Regions from separate parts of the Homo sapiens genome. Here region 2 is linked to region 1. The links are contacts of gene promoters, found by promoter capture Hi-C in human tissues and cell types (Jung and others, 2019). All regions are on one chromosome and are shown on one strand. Each heading gives the region's core, a stretch centred on a gene start or on the middle of the fragment in contact. The rest is flanking DNA. Distances are from core to core; before and after follow the strand shown.

Region 1 (2,530 bases), core at 21-2,520:
AACATACAGCTGAAGTGAGTGGGAGCAACGTTAATGGCTATGACTGGATAATTGAACAAACTGTTATATATGCAGATAATGAAATAGTATTCACCCTTTGGAAGGAAATTCTGACACATGGGATGAACCTTGAGGACATTATGATAAGTGAAATAAGCCAGTCACAGACACACACACACACACACACACACACACACACACACAATACCACATGATTCCATTTATATGAGGTTTCTAAAACACTCAAATTTATAGAGACACAAAATAGAATGGTGGTTGCTGGGGGCTGTGTGTGAGAAGAATGGGGAGTTATTTCACAGTGGGTACAGAATTTCAATTTAGGGAGGTGAAATGAGATTCATAGATGGATATTGTGGATGGTCATACAACAATATGATTATACTTGAAGCCACTGTACTGATTGTGCCTTAAAAATATTTAATATGATAGAAAAAATAATTTAAGAAACTTGTCCAACACCCTACAGTTATGACATTACAGACTGATTTTTTAAAAGATATTTAAAGTTGATCAAGCTTCAACACTAAGGAAGGTTGGGAAAACGGAGAAATGGAAGATATCGAGTGAAAGAAATGAGTCAGGAGGGTTTTGAGGTCTTTCAGCAAAGTGACACTAAGGGCTGTAATTAGAGATTTTGTATAGTTCCTACGTGTAGAAAGTACATGTTATTGCATTTTCTAAGAAGTAAAAAGAAAAAAATAGAGCATGTTAGAGATACGAAGGTGTGAAGATCACAAAGTTTTGTCAAATGCAGAATTTATTTGTCAAGAAGGACATATGTATATTTCCATGATGTTTAAATTTTAAACAACCAAATAAAACCCTCAGGTATTGTGCTGCCCGTACAATTATGATGCTCAAGTAATGCACTCTGGTATTGACTGACGCAACTGCACTGCCTTTCCCAGTCGTGACTGGCATTTTAGTTTAGGGTGGATACAAAAAGTGGAGGCAAAGGGAATGCGCATGGAAGAGATGGGCTCCTTCTGCCATATAACTTTATTGAATTAGACCATATCCTTGAGATTGAATCAGCATCAATACCTCTGCAGGTGTGGCGACATTTATTCAACAAGGTAGAAAACTTCCTGCACCAGCAGATCTAAGATGAAAATGTCTATAAAGATTTCATTTCTCTTGAGACTGAAGAAGACATTAATTTATCTCTGTGATTGGATAAAGATCTTAGTTTTCTTTTTTCTCCTTTACCTGGTAAAGGTTATACTTGTGGACTGATGAGAAAAAGTCTCATTGCAACAAAGTACCTTGTACAGTTAATGAAAATGTGTGTTTACCATTATACTCTTACACTGCAAAGAAATAAAAAATATCCAAGAAGGTCAGTACTGTTTTCAGTCTATCACCTATAAAGGAGGACTAAATGTGTTCACAACTCCAAATTAACTATGTTTTCATCTGCAGACTCAGCCTTTCCAGACCTGAGAATATAAGTCACCCTCTTTAGAAAGGAAAAAAAGTCTTCTTGGATTAAGTCAGGGAAAACTGCCTGATTTTGGTAGGTTTCAATGAGTTTTGATATGTTATAGACCCACAACCTTCACAGTCAAGGATGTAGTTTTATATAATGAAATATACTGACTTAATTCAGCTTCTAAAATATTGACTATGCATGATGTAACTCAAGCACAAATAAAGTGACAAATTATGTGAATCATTTCATTCTCACTCACTTATGATGGTACCAGATAAAGCAAAACCATTCTGACAGGTTACTTGCAACTTATCCAGAACGTGGATTTGTGATATAAAATTAATCAATACTTAGCCTGAGAAGCATTTATTATGAAATCCTTGGAAATGAGAAAAAGTTTAATTAATTTTATGCACAAATTAGAACATTTTGCAAGTGGCAAATGAAAGATTTGACATAGGTTTCATCGCTTTCACACAAGTACTTTTCTATTTTTTTACTACGTAACTCAAATGGAGTACCATAAAGGATAAACACTCTGTCTTCTTTTTCTCCATTTGCAGTGTCACTCTTATTTGAAATCATGGAAAATGGGAGCTATACCTCTTATTTCATTCTCCTAGGACTCTTTAACCACACCAGAGCCCACCAAGTCCTCTTCATGATGGTTCTGAGTATCGTTTTGACCTCCCTGTTTGGCAATTCCCTCATGATTCTCCTGATTCACTGGGACCACCGGCTCCACACGCCCATGTACTTCCTCCTGAGCCAACTTTCCCTCATGGACGTGATGCTGGTTTCCACCACTGTGCCCAAAATGGCGGCTGACTACTTGACCGGAAGTAAGGCCATCTCCCGCGCTGGCTGTGGTGCGCAGATCTTCTTCCTCCCCACACTGGGTGGTGGAGAGTGCTTCCTCTTAGCAGCCATGGCCTATGACCGCTATGCGGCTGTCTGCCACCCACTCCGATATCCCACTCTCATGAGCTGGCAGCTGTGCCTGAGGATGAACCTGTCGTGTTGGCTCCTGGGTGCAGCTGACGGGCTCCTGCAGGCTGTTGCTACCCTGAGCTTCCC
Region 2 (2,530 bases), core at 12-2,511, 40 kb before region 1:
TACCCCTTCCATGGGGCACCACCCATTCAGTGAGACGGGGAAGCCCTGGGTGGGAGGGAGAACACCTCCACATGTCTTCTACTCTCTCCATAGGATGGAATGAGTGTCCCAGTCCCAGGAGTATCCATTTCCCACTGTGTAGCCCAGTACTCTGGTCTCACTGTCTCTGCTGAATCCTGTCTCACTGTGCATATTATTGTGGTTTATATCAGTCAGTAAACCAATGTGAGTCTTCATCTCTTGCATTCTTAGGTTCATAGTTTTGTGTGTCTCCTGTAATGACTCTTCTCTTTCCCTTTCCAACTCCTGAAAGATTGCCACTATTTCCTCTGGAACTTTGTTTCGTTACCAGCAAAATCCTCGACATCCATACCCGTTTCCTGGCTTTCCCTCTCCTTTCCTCTGAATGGTAGTCTTTTATATTCAGCTGTCCACTTGACATCAAAATAGACATTTTGAACTCAATTTGCCTAAAACTTACCCACAAATTTCTCCCCAAGTCTCTCCCTAACTGCAACAACAAAAACCACAGGCTTCTCCCTGTCACTGGATGGCAACTCCATTCTTTTGATTGCTTAAGCCAGGCATCCGATTGAGTACTTTCTTGATTTCTCCAGCCCACATCCAGTCCATCGGCAAGCCCTGTTGGTCCTACCTTCAGAATATGTCCGGGGTTCAGTTGTCCTGGCCACCCTGCTGCTGTAACCATGGTCAGAACTCCATCCTGCCCCTCTGGATTATGACTTTCGTTTCCTCACAGTGGTCCTGCTTGGGCTCTAGGCCCTTCCACTCCCATTCTCTCTACAGCAGCTGGGCTGATTCCTTTAGCACCCAAGGATATGTTGGCATCACAGTGACTTAGATACCATCACAAAGACCTCCCATTCAACTTAGAGTGAAAGTCAGAATCCTCACAGTGAATCCCCAGGCCCTAGAGGATGTGAACCCCCAGGCCCTAGAGGATCTGAACCCCCATCCCTCCTCTGATTATCTCTCCCACCCCCACTTCCCTTTGCATTCTGCTCCAGCTGCCCTGGCCTCATGGCTGGGTTTCCACCAAAGCAGGCACTTCCCATCACAGGGCCATTTCCCCGCCTGTGGCTTCTGCTTGACATTCCCTTTTCCCTGATATCCCCTTGACTCATTATTCCCTTTCTTCCTTAACTCTTCTGAGATCCAGCTTCTCAGTGATACCACACAGCCCTACTCCCCCCAGAGCCCATCTAGAGCTCACCTTTCCAGTCGCCCTTGCCAGGCTCAGTGGAGGCTCTTTGTTCCCCATACAGTACGTGTCGTCGTACTATATTGTTAGGCTTATTTAATTTATGTATGTTTTGCCTTTTTGTGCTAAATGTAAACACCACAAGGGGAGGTATCTTTGTCTGTTGACAATGATACATTCAATGTTTCTCAAGCACCCCCAATGCTGGTTTGTATGTGGTTATCATTCAATCTGTATTTGTTGAATGAATAAATGATTGACTATGTGGAGAGCAAAATTGATGGACCTGAAAATGTTTTGCAAAATGTAATATAGTCTACTGATACAATATTTATTATTATTGGCCAATAATGTTTAATGCCAAGTGCTAAATTAGTAAAATTTTGGGGATATAGAGAAAAATTGAGCAGAAGTCTTAAGTTTGTAAACATAATGGATTTTGTGACCTGATAACTTGGCATGTCCAGGCCTAGTCCCATTGAGCCCCCTGTGGTTTTGATTCCCTGTGACATCACAGTGACACCTTTGAATTATGCTTTGTCTCATACTCCATAAGCCACCTCTCAAAATGGTATCATCACTAAAAATATGGGGAACTTTCTATAAACTTACATAGACTACAACCTTTAAAAAAAAAAATTGATGTTAATGTTTTATGTTGCCTTTCTTCACCTAAACGATATGGTGCATCCACGCCATCCAGAAATGGAGTGTCTTGGGTCTGCTGTCCTTCCCGTCGCTTCCCTGTTACTGTGCATTTCTGTTATATACATTTGGCATTTTTTCTATCTCAAATCATAATTTTTTTTCTTTCTGACATATCCTTAAGGACTGCTCTGACAGTTACCAGTGAAATTCTTTCGTTCTCTATAAAAATTTGAACATCAACTCTGGTAGAGCACAGTGGCTCATGCCTGTAATCCCAACACTTGGGGAGACTGCGGTGGGAGGATTGCTCGAGACCAGAAGTTTGAGACCAGCTGGGCAACAAAGCAAGACCTGGTTCCTACAAAAAAAATACAAATTAGCCAGATATGGTGGTGCAAACCTGTAGTCCCAGCCACTTGGAAGGCTGAGGCGGGAAGATGGCTTGAGCCCAGGATTTCAAGTCTGCAGTGAGCCAGGATCACGCCACTGCACTCTGGCCTGAGTGACAGAGTGAGACCCTCTCCCTTAAAAAATAGAAAACTAAAAGAGAAAGTCAATCCCCAACATGAGCTTCTAGCCTTTTCTAAGCTATAACCCTCCAGAACTATGTCTACATATCCAGAAGTGTGGATAATTTATTCAAAGAAGTAATTTGCTTAA

The links. Contacts are between HindIII fragments. The study calls those that stand out against the background at their distance.
Region 2: a contact is called between a fragment that was not itself captured here and the fragment with the promoter of OR2T8 in region 1, in 2 of the 25 tissues and cell types used here (mesendoderm cells and thymus).

Annotation. Positions count from the first base shown.
Region 1 is chr1:247,918,982-247,921,511 of GRCh38, forward strand. It overlaps OR2T8 (olfactory receptor family 2 subfamily T member 8), which reads left to right and starts at 1,271. Exons shown (of 2, transcript NM_001005522.2): 1 at 1,271-1,537; 2 at 2,017-2,530. The coding sequence starts at 2,037. The HindIII fragment of the contact is 8,254 bases long and covers 1-2,530 here.
Region 2 is chr1:247,878,640-247,881,169 of GRCh38, forward strand. TRIM58 (tripartite motif containing 58) reads left to right here. Exons shown (of 6, transcript NM_015431.4): 6 at 1-1,499. Among named protein-coding and RNA genes, the nearest start is that of OR2W3, 16 kb to the right of the region's middle. The HindIII fragment of the contact is 3,492 bases long and covers 1-2,530 here.